4 separate regions of the Homo sapiens genome follow, and regions 2, 3 and 4 are each linked to region 1. The links are contacts of gene promoters, found by promoter capture Hi-C in blood cells and fetal thymus (Javierre and others, 2016). All regions are on one chromosome and are shown on one strand. The core of a region is centred on a gene start or on the middle of the fragment in contact, and the rest is flanking DNA. Distances in the headings are between cores, read along the strand shown. Region 1 holds the start of ABCA5 (ATP binding cassette subfamily A member 5). Region 2 overlaps KCNJ2-AS1 (KCNJ2 antisense RNA 1). Region 3 holds the start of PRKAR1A (protein kinase cAMP-dependent type I regulatory subunit alpha). Region 4 has its middle 140 kb from the start of LINC01482.

Region 1 (2,729 bases), core at 76-2,575:
AGACTGTCTAGTTGCAAGAAAACAAGCTCATGGCTCCCACTGATTCTACATTATGGTGAGTTGTATAATTATTTCATTACATATTACAGTGTAGTAACAGTAGAAATAAAGTGCACAGTAAATATAATGTGCTTGAATCATCCCCAAACCATCCTCCCTCCCCCAGAAAAAACTGTCTTCCATGAAACTGGTCCCTGGTGCCCAAAAGGTTGGGGACCGCTGTTTTAATCATCAAGGATTCTGACGAACCTCTTTGAATTTTCTATTTAATTCATATTCCATAAGTAAAACTTGATTCCTTGTTTGTTTGTTTTTCCCCTAAGAATTTAGAAAGCAGAGTGCATGTTGGGGAGACCTGGTTTAAATTCGAGAAGCAGATAACACAAAGACAAGTAAAAAAAAAAAACATGATGTACACAGGATTGACAGAATAAAAAAAAAGTCTTTGTGCAAGGGAATGTGACTATACAGAAATGTGGAGAGGAAAATACGTAATGTTAGTGTTAATAACTTTTGACCCCATTTAGGTCACTTTGAGTAATGAAGCTCAAAACACTAGATTATATTTTTAGCAAAGTAAGTGCAGTATCCAGTCTCTCACAGATGTCATGTGTCTCAGGCCGTTTGGAAAATTCAGCATCTGCCGCATTCCCAGTCTTTGATGAGGACACTCCGCGAACTACAAGCACCCTCAGTGGGAGGACCTCCCAGGTCGGGGTGTGAGGGCCAATGAGGAGGCTGGGGAGGGGAGGCAAGAGTTACGGAAACGGGGCCACAGCACTCCAGATGCCGCGGCGGGAGGAAGCGGGGCTGCAGAGGACTCAAAACGCGTTCAGAGAGGCCCATCCAAATGCCAGGAGACAGACGGCAAGGATGCTTAAGAGGAGACGTGACTGGGCGAGGCAGATGAGGAGAGGGCCGTGGGCCAAGGTCACCCGCTAAGAGGCGGCAGGTTTACCACTGAGACACGAGGCCGTGGTTTTTGCCCGTGCCTCCAGAAAGAGCGTGGCGAGATCCCCGCAGAACCCAGGCGTGGGAGGCCCTGGGGAAGAGCCACGAGGCCCGACTCTAGTGGCTCAGGGGCCCTGGGCAGCGGCGCGCCACCGCTCGCCCCACCCTCAGCCGCTCTCCTCTTCCGGGCGCGCTGCTTGCCTGCGTGCGCCGGGACGCGCGGGGCCGAGCGTCTGAAGCGCGCCCGTACGCGGAGCGGCGCTTTCTAGGAGCCCCGCCCTCAGGTGCGCTCTGCAGGAGGCGGGGCGCGACTTCGGCGCCGCCAGCTCTGCCTGCGCCAGGAGCGCGCGGGTGCGCGCGGCCGCGCCCTCGCACAGATCCCAGCTGGGTCACCCGCACTGAGTCAACAGACTGAGCGCGTCCAGGCCTGACAGCTCTGCGGCTCGGGCCCTGAGGTGAGGCGGGCGTCGCGGGCGGCGGCGGCGCTTGAGGCTAGCCTGGGACAGCCGTCCCTGGGGGAGTTGAGGGGACGAGGAGGGGCTGGCCAGCGAGGGACGGCGGGGAGAGAAGGGGAGTTCGGCGTCTGAGGTGTGGGGTGAAGCGGGCTCGGAAGCGGGCAGAGGCGGCGAGCTGAGGGAAACAGACCTCCCTCAGCTCCCGGGAAGCGCGGGTTGCCAGCCTCGGGGATGCGGTGGGAGCGCCCAGGATGCGGACGTGAGGGGGTCGGGGCCCTGCGGCGGGGGCTCCGCGAGGCTCCCCTGGGACCGGGTCCGGCCGTGGGACTTCGGGACACTGCCTTTGCCTGGACGCTGTCGTTCCACCCTCAGCAACCTCAGGGAAAGAAGGAAAACAAATATTGATGTAAATTTCCGTCTGAACAGCTGGGTAATGAGCGCTTGCTCTTCCCTGCGAGGTTACGCGCGGATCATTACCTTGCGTGTTAAAAGGAGTTTCAGTGAGAAGAAAATGCGCAGATCTCATGACACAGTTTGGGAGGGAAATTCCCTGATCCTAAAACACGAATAGGAGCTCCAGGCATGGAAATACTTAATTGGATCGGAAAGCTGGGCAGGCTGGAGCTATTAAGCTGAAGGAGGTTTTCCCCTGGGCTCCTCAGGCTTCGATTTACGTTTTAAATAAATAAGTCCGAAAATAATGAAGATAATAACCACGTTTACTTTCTACAAGGGCGTTCTGAAGGAATCTAAGGGAAGAGGAGTATTTGCTGGACTACAGCTTTAAGCCAGGCTCGGTATTAGCTCTTTTCATTCTGACAGCAACCCTGTAGGATTGGAGGGGGTTATTCCAGTTGGGCAGGTGTGGAGAATGGGCCTCAAAGAGGTTAAGTAACTTATTAAGGTCTCAGCTAGTAAAAGGATGGAGTTGAGATTCCAACCCGGGCTGCCAGACCCTAATTCTGGTGCTTTATTTAGTATATTTTGTGTTTGCCGGGAGAGCAATATTGTATGTGTTTTAGGGAAGACTCCATAGTAGGGAACATTATTAGGGCAGTTAGGGCTTTGTGGGTATTTGTGTTAAAATCAAACTAAAGAGGCGTTAATCTTTGCATATGTGCTGTTTGAGTATATTTCCTTTCAAACAGATTTAGTGTAGGGAAATCTTACATTCACTATAAGAGCAAATTTATTAGTACATTCCATGTGTATTGCATGTCTTTTATTTTTAAAGAGACAGCGTCTCGGGCTAGAGTGCAGTGGTGCGATCAAAGTTCACTGCAGCCTTGAACGTCTGGACTCTAGGGACCCTGCTGAATAGCT
Region 2 (2,729 bases), core at 120-2,619, 840 kb before region 1:
CCCGACTGTTCGCGAATTACTTACAAGGCGCCTAGGCTTCTCCGAAGGGTGGACGGCTCGTTCCCTCTCGCCTTGTCCGCCCTCAGTCTCTCCACCACCGCCCGGCACGCTTTGCTGATCTAAAATCAGAACAATTAGAGAGTAATGATTTTTTTTGGAATAGCAACTCCTACAGACACTCAGATCTGCCCTCGCTTCAGCGCCTCCCAGCCCTCCTTCCCAGCAGCCAGGCGAGAGCGCGCAGACCCCTAAAAAGCAACTTCAGTGTTAACCGGGTCTGGATCCTGGAACTTTATAAACTAATCCGTGTGTGTGTGTGTGTGTGTGTGTGTAAACCGAAGAGTAAGTGCCTATTATTTCTGAGTACTTCGGTGTCCTAACGAAGCTTTGCTCCTAAAGGACAGGATATATTTTAGGAGTCTTTCTTTCCACTGAGTTTTTTAAATGTTTATTTTCTCGAGCGATCAAATGTGTCTTTTGTGCAGTTTATTTAAACCTCGTAAGGCCTCCTTGAGTCGCTGAACTAATTCAGCAAACTAGCTGGTATTGTGGACGGCGCAGTCGGGGTGGATTTTTGTGTGTAGGAGAGGTGAAACTGACAATTCAAGGAAAGGTTCTGTGCGAGTCCCCACCTCCCATCCTCATATCCACACGTGGCCCCTAGGAGGTGCTGGTGAAATATGCTTGCTTAGGTTTCGCAGATCCGCACTTACTCCTGCCTTAACAAGTGTGCCTTTTTTCTTAGCACTGAGCAAGGTACTTAAATTAAAAGGGTGTGCAAGAGATGATGCACTCGGTGTGGCTGCTCTGATAGCCAAATGGCGATGTGGTCCCAGTTAATGTGTTGAGATTATACTGTTCACCAAGCCCTGTTACGAACTCTGTTGCCATGCACGTGGGAATAATGCCTGCCCCAAGGGAGGTCTTCTTTAACATCTATTTAGTCATGTGTTATTTATAAACAGCTTGAATTAATACTGTAAAATAGACGGATGTCTAAGAATCTAGGCTGTAGCCTAAAGCTAAATGAACCTGAGGGTAGACAAGTTCACTCTGTATTAACCAAAGGATAATGAATGAGTTCACCGCTCAGTTCAATAAGCTTCTTCTGAAATATGCTTCCTCCTGGACTTCTAAGAAACAGGCCAAAAGTTTAATTATCCCTTAAAACATGTTAAGCCTAAATAGAAAAAGGAAATTAATCATTTATAGATTTTCTCTTCTTTATTATGATTCAGTTGGTGCATCTGTAGATGGCTAAGAATTTTCCAAACCACGTGAATTCAGAGAGGCAACACTTTTGTTGTTGTTGTTTTTCCAGGTAATGAGCTCGCTTTGAAAACCAGTCACTCGGAAAGGGATGGCATTTTTATGCAACTTGGATTGAAATGGTTTTGCTTTAGTATTCTACTCTAATTAGAAAGAATACACCACAGGCCGAAATAGTTTCATATGATAGGAAAATCTTTAAAGAAAGGAACACAGAGTTATTAGATTATGGTTGGCTGTATAAATTTAGCTGGGCAGCGGGAGGAAGGTCATAATAAATGTATCCTGCTCTCTCTCATCAATTATCAGCAGCACATCCCCCAACATTCTCTCCTCCCAAAGACTGAAGGATGTGCAGCAAAGCTTAGATCTTGAAGGAGAAGGTTCGGGAAAAATTAATGATTTTAATTAGAACTTTCCAATCTAAGTAGAATCATTACCTTAATTAGCTAAATAAGGAAGTATGAAGGATGAAATTTTGCAAATGAAATTTTGTAAATGTATGGTAGCGTAGAATACCCCCATTGCTTCATTTTAAAAAAAGAAAATATAAATGCATTTTAATTAATAAATGACTTTTCATCATGTCCCTATTAGGAAAATTCTGTGTGCCAATGCTTTCAGTGTTTGATTTAATACATCTTTTGAAGTGATGCGTGATGCAGATTTCTGTATTCAGAGTCTATCTTTTTTGGCTGAATCAGGCCTTATTTAGCAAAAATCCCCATTAGTCTTGGACACGAATGCAATTGGGTGTTGGGATCCATCTGTGGATTAAATTTTTCCAAGGAAATGACAATTATGCTCTTACTGATTCTCTCCACGGTAACCACCTATAATATTAGAGCCAAATATTAGTCACAATCTGGATCTGCAGTCAGATTGTGAATAGCTGTGTGACGCAGAAGGTGATTGTTTCACTAGAAGCACAGATCTTTCCTTTGCATTTATATAAAGATCCCCAACAATTAGACATACTTTCAGACTTACATTAACCATGTATATGCAGTTCAAATTCACAATGGTAAAACATCAAACGCTCCTGGCATTTGTATCCACTGGATATTAAAAACCACTTTCTAATCTTCAAAGTAATCATCATTAGCAATAAATAGTAAATAAATCATTGTCAGATTGCCCGGAAATGTAGACAGGCTGAGTTTGCAATCTGCTGCTATGAGAACAAGCCACTTACTGTGGTATTTTAAGGCACTGTATGTAATCTTATTTATTGGAAAACAGTTTTGGCCTTTAGTTTCACTTACTGCATTGATAATATTTAATCTTCATATTTTTAAATTCAGTGAACGTATTTGTTGAAATAACTACGTTGTACTTTGGCTATATGCTAGGTGAGATGAAAGACAGAAGTGTCCTAGCGGGAGTAATTCCTCTTCTTAAGAGTTCAAAATGTCTAACTGAGAAGATGAACAAGGCAGAAGTGAAACATTTAAATGATT
Region 3 (2,729 bases), core at 108-2,607, 810 kb after region 1:
TATTACGAAAACCAAAAAGATAGCCACCGGTAATAGGACAGTATACGAACAGAAATGTACCAAAATTAATGCAGTCACCATGTAAATCCCTGAATAACCAGACTTCACAGTCTTAATATTTTTAATCGAGTTACCCGGATTCTCTATGTGTACTTATTTGTAAAGCCCAACAACCTAGCCTTCCCTCCCCACACACAATTATTTAACTGCTTTAAAACTTTCGCTGCATTGTCTCTATGTAAAACAAAACACTCAGATTCATTCTTTTGAAAATTCAGTTGTGACAAAATTGTTTCGAAAGGATTACATTCTGGGAAATAAATAAAAACACTTTGAGAAACTGTTCCTGATTCAGACCGCACCCCCTTAGACCAGCCAAGTTACGGCTCCCCTAGGGTCATCTTGAGTAAGTGTTTGCTTTCCTCGCTCTGCTAAAAAGACGGATCTCTTGGGAATCTCTCAAGGAGTAGGACGGTCGTCACCACAGGCTCTGAGCTGAAGAGGTTAATAGGTACCGTGTATTTTCTAGAAGAAGGGCAGGAAAATGCCCTTCACTTCACGTAGGCCACGGTCATGACCACAAAATGAAGGGAAGCCGAGACTTCAAGCTACGCCAGTCGGAAGGCCACAGTGGTGGCGAGGAGGCCTCAGGGGGGCAAAATTGGGAAAGGGAGAGAGGTGAAAGGGGACAAGAGGAAATTCAGGAGCCCGACTAAGACCGTCGTGTTGGGGGAAAGATCACTCCGCTATGAAGAGGAAAGGCTACTGCTAGCAATGACGAGTCGTCAAAAGTGGAGAGGAAAACTACCGGCTTACAAGAAGAGCCAGGACCGGCGGACGAGACGATGGCGGACCCCAGTAAAATAGAGCCGTTGTCCTTCAGGAAATGGGGGAGGGTGAGCGAAGAGGCCGCGGCGCGCGGGGGCGAAGGCGGCCGGGGAGGGCCGCGGAGGGCCCAGGGCCCCAGGAGCCGTGGGGTGGGGGCAGCGAGCGCGAGCGGGGCGGCTGGGGAGCCCCGCACCAAAGCCAACGCCCAGACGGCCTTGAGGATGCAGACTCGGAGCCGGGGGCGTGAGGCCTGCGGGGAGGCGCCCGCCGGGCCGGGGAGGGGCAGGGGGTGCGGCCGTCCCCCTGCAGGTCGCTCCCCGTGACGCCATCTTGGATCGGTCCAGCTCCCGCAAACCGGCTGCGAAGCGACGAAGCTCACCTCGCCTGAGCCCCCGGCCGACCCCACTCACCTGGGGACGGGCGGCGGCGGGCGCGAGGCTGCGGGTGCGAGGCGGCGGCGTACCGAGCTCCCTCAGCGCTTTGCTCCCAGCCCCGCTCCACTCTGCGATAGCGGCTAGGCGACAGCTCCACCGGAAACGGCCTGGCCGCAGCCAATCAGCGTTCGGCTACTGACGTCAATGCGCCTCGCTCTGGCCAGAACCGTCGCCTTAGCAACCTTAAGGGCGCAACAGCCCCAGTTCCTCCCCCCTGGTCGCTCTTGGAAGGACCCTCACTCTGCGGTCGTTCGTCTTCCGCCATTCTTTCCATCTTACTCGTCCCTTATCCACAGCAGTTTCCTCACGCCCGCCACTTCTCCTTTCCGCAGTCTCCCTAGCCCGGTTCTCTCCTCCTTCCTGCTCACCTGCCCCTCCTTACCTGTCCCTCTCTGGGTGTCTTGGGTCGCCTTTGTTCCTCCGCCTGCTCTTCGCTCTCTCTCCGCGCAGCTATCGTGCGCTTCCCTCTCGTCCCTCCGCTCCTCTGTCCACCCCACTCTCCCTCCGGCCTCCCTTGACGCCTCTGCCTTTTCTCCCTCCTTTCCACCCCCTCCCTGGCCGACCCACGTGGGGCGTCTCAGATGACAGGTGGGCGACTCCTCCCCGCAGCCCCTGCAAGGGAGGGCCCCGGGCCGGGGCGGGGAGAGTCCTGTCGCTGCCAGCCCCCGGAGGAGGTGGCGGCCCCCGCGGATCTGCAGCAGCTGCGCTGCGGGGCCGAGCGCGGGCGGATGGCCGGGATGCGCTCTCCGGGCCGCGCATCCTGTGCCCGGCCAGCGCCGCCCGGGCCCCGGGCTCAGGTCAGTCATCCGGTCCAGGAAACCTGAGCCCTGCCGAGTCTCCGCTGGGGCCGCTCTCCCCCGCCGGGGGTGCTGTCGTCTGTGCAGGCAACACCGTCCCTGTGGAAACCAGGCACGGGAAAGGACTTTGTCAGGGTCCAAGAGGAGGCCTGAGTCCTTCTAGAACCTGAAGTGCCCCCCCATCACTCCTGACCTCACAGAGGGAGAAGTGCAGAGCGTGCAGATTGTCAAAAATGCCCTGTGACCCAACAAGAAATCGCAGCTGTCCAGACAAGCTGCACTAATGGGGAAAATTCGGAGGAAAAGCGACTTTACTCTTTCAGCCATTTTTTTTTTCCATCAGAGTATCTGTCTAAGGAGGAAGAAAAGGGAGACGGTACAATTTTAGACACATCAAGTCTGTAACTCAATAAAGAAGGCCCATCAAGGAAACATGTCCAAGTGTCTGGCTAGGGGCTGCTTTAGTAGCATTGTATATATTTCTAGGGCCGTGTGCTTAAAATTCATAATGGATTCAACACAATACAAAAAAGCAAAATACACACATATGCAAGTGTCCAGGAGCTGTTGTAGTAACATTGTATATACTTCAAGGGCTGTATGTTTAAAGTAAATCATGAACTCAACACAATACAAAAAAGTAGCTCAATAGTGTTTATATTGATTCCAG
Region 4 (2,729 bases), core at 75-2,574, 550 kb after region 1:
GGTTTTCTGTTTCTGTGTTAGTTTGCTGAGGATGATGGCTTCCAGCTTCAACCATGTCCCTGTAAAGGACATGAACTCATTCTTTTTTATGGCTGCATAATATTCTATGGTGTACATGTGCCACATTCTCTTTATCCAGTCTATCATTGATGGGCATTTCGGTTGGTTCCAAGTCTTTGCTATTGTAAATAGTGCTGCAATCAACATACTGTGCATGTGTTTTTCTAGTAGAATAATTGTCAAATGCTGTTGGAAGCAGAGATCCCATATCCTTTCTACCATTTTTGGCCCAACCTAAAGTGCCATCTATGGGGGGATAGTTCTGACTAAGAAGTGTTTATTTCAAGAGATGTCAGAGAGAAACTATACTTTTGGTTTCATGGGAAGTCTTTACTTCCATGCAAGGATGCTGGAACAAATTTTTCCAATCTTTTTTCACTCTGCTATGGAAAAATCTACATGCAACCAAGGAGGTGCTCATTGTCCCTTCTGCCCATGCTGAGCAAAGGATGAGATGCTTTCTGTTCACAAATTGCTACAACCACAAAGTGTGACAAAATAAGAAATTTGAAAAGTAAAAGGGCCAGACGAAAAATTCAAAGAACTTTTCTTGGGCTCCCTTTGAAAATAAGAGCCATTGCTTTCTGTACCTCAGTAAGTCTTGTACTTTTGCACATTTCTAAGACACCTTTGGACTTTTACAAAGAAGTCTTTGCCCCCACCTGCCTCTAGGGACTTGTGTAATCACAAATATTCTAAAGGTATACACATTCATTGAATTTGTGGTGGCCACATCCTTCTGTTCATCTAGCTATGATTATGGAGAAGAGAAAAGTCTCAGAGGAGTTCAATCTGAAGCTTGGACACACCATTTGTGCCTCTCTTTGGGATCCTGGAAAAAAAAAAACCAAGGATCAGAAAGCTGAGGTGATGCCCTGGGCAGGATTCCCCCAAGTAAACTTCCCACCTCATCCCCCTAGAAGTTTGCTCTCCAAAAGTTGAAGAAGGCTCTCCTTTCTATGTCACTGGGCTCTAAGCACTGGGATTACCAAAGTTTATTTTCAACAAGCCTTAAAATCTAACCCCTTATTGGCCTTGTGAACAGGGCAGGCCTCTTACAGAGGGTAGAAGCGGAATGGAACGACACACATTCAGCCTGTACTGGAGATTGTGGTAGCCACTCGGCCTCATGAGCAAATTCCCAGCTCTCACTGTTAACATCCTCCCACTTCTTCTTACAAGCTTCTCTCTTGCTTTCACTCTGTCTCAATCTTTCTTAAAGTGAAATCCTCAACTCTAGCCCCAGGAATCTAAAGGAAGAGATTCTAGCAATAGTCAAGGCTATCATCGATGATTTCTCCTCTCCAGTGGGCATTTACAGTCAATACTGAACCCAGAAAGCTTTCTTAATTTCTGCCCTCTTGGGATGTCGCTCCTTGGACTTACTGATGCTTTTCGAATAGTGAAAACATTTTAGGCAAGGGGAAACATTGCCCTCTACAGGGCGTATGAATCTCAACGTTTTAAAGGCCATCACTCAGCAGCACAGCACATGTGATTTTCAGGGATTCTTCATTCTTCCTCTACTTTTAGGTTAATACAGCTGGTGACAATCTTTTTTTTTTTATTTTTTATTTTATTTTATTTATTTATTTTTTTTTTGAGACGGAGTTTCGCTCTGTCGCCCAGGCTGGAGTGCGGTGGCGCGATCTCGACTCACTGCAAGCTCCGCCTCCCGGGTTCACGCCATTCTCCTGCCTCAGCCTCCCGTGTAGCTGGGACTACAGGCGCGCGCCACCATGCCCGGCTAATTTTTGTATTTTTAGTAGAGACGGGGTTTCACCGTGTTAGCCAGGATGGTCTCGATCTCCTGACCTCGTGATCTGCCCGTCTCGGCCTGACAATCTTGTTGGCTAGAATGACTTCTGCACACATTTATTGCTCATGTATAAAGAGAAAGAGAACGCCAAGAAAAAATTTTAAAGTTCCATTCTTTTTGCAAAAACGTGTTGATGCAATACTTCCCAAAATCAGGCGAAGGTGAGGACATTTTGAACTTGAAGTTGCTGAGGGTCCTTCAGTGGTGCTGGGAAAGCTAAATCCTGTCAGTCCATTTCATAACACCACACAGCTAACAGGAAAGGGAGTGTCATGGGTTTTTCAGGTTTTCCTTCCAGGTCCTGTATAGAAAATAAGAAGCTATGTCTCTGCATAGCAAAAGAAACTACCATCAGAGTGAACAGGCAACCTACAGAATGGGAGAAAATTTTTACAATCTACCCAACTGACAAAGGGCTAATATCCAGAATCTACAAAGAACTTATACAAATTTACAAGAAAAAATCAAACAACCCCATCAAAAAGTGGGCAAAGGATATGAACAGACACTTCTCAAAAGAAGACATTTATGCGGCCAACAGACACATGAAAAAATGCTCACCATCACTGGCCGTCAGAGAAATGCAAATCAAAACCACAATGAGATACCACCTCACACCAGTTAGTATGGCGATCATTAAAAAGTCAGGAAACAACAGGTGCTGGAGAGGATGTGGAGAAACAGGAACACTTTTACACTGTTGGTGGGACTGTAAACTAGTTCAACCATTGTAGAAGACAGTGTGGCGATTCCTTAAGGATCTAGAACTAGAAATGCCATTTGACCCAGCCATCCCATTACTGGGTATTTTCCCCAAGGATTATAAATCATGCTGCCATAAAGACACATG

The links. The method cuts DNA at HindIII sites, captures the fragments that hold promoters and counts their contacts. A CHiCAGO score of 5 or more calls a contact.
Region 2: a contact is called between a fragment that was not itself captured here and the fragment with the promoter of ABCA5 in region 1, in 1 of 17 cell types (total B cells). The highest score is 7.6, in total B cells.
Region 3: a contact is called between the fragment with the promoter of PRKAR1A here and the fragment with the promoter of ABCA5 in region 1, in 1 of 17 cell types (erythroblasts). The highest score is 7.1, in erythroblasts.
Region 4: a fragment that was not itself captured here is called in contact with the fragment with the promoter of ABCA5 in region 1 in 1 of 17 cell types (total B cells); the score reaches 5.6 in total B cells.

What each region holds. Positions count from the first base shown.
Region 1 is chr17:69,325,729-69,328,457 of GRCh38, reverse strand. ABCA5 (ATP binding cassette subfamily A member 5) reads left to right here and starts at 1,325. Exons shown (of 39, transcript NM_172232.4): 1 at 1,325-1,406. RefSeq lists an enhancer at 819-958 and silencers at 1,039-1,418, 1,549-1,638. The HindIII fragment of the contact is 4,188 bases long and covers 1-2,729 here.
Region 2 is chr17:70,166,153-70,168,881 of GRCh38, reverse strand. It overlaps KCNJ2-AS1 (KCNJ2 antisense RNA 1), which reads left to right. Exons shown (of 1, transcript NR_036534.1): 1 at 1-1,921. Among named protein-coding and RNA genes, the nearest start is that of KCNJ2-AS1, 1.9 kb to the left of the region's middle. The HindIII fragment of the contact is 530 bases long and covers 1,105-1,634 here.
Region 3 is chr17:68,511,058-68,513,786 of GRCh38, reverse strand. It overlaps PRKAR1A (protein kinase cAMP-dependent type I regulatory subunit alpha), which reads right to left and starts at 1,357. Exons shown (of 11, transcript NM_002734.5): 1 at 1,239-1,357. RefSeq lists silencers at 887-1,396, 1,817-2,176 and enhancers at 1,467-1,556, 1,310-1,883. The HindIII fragment of the contact is 13,629 bases long and covers 1-2,729 here.
Region 4 is chr17:68,770,794-68,773,522 of GRCh38, reverse strand. No RefSeq gene overlaps it. Among named protein-coding and RNA genes, the nearest start is that of LINC01482, 140 kb to the right of the region's middle. The HindIII fragment of the contact is 159 bases long and covers 1,245-1,403 here.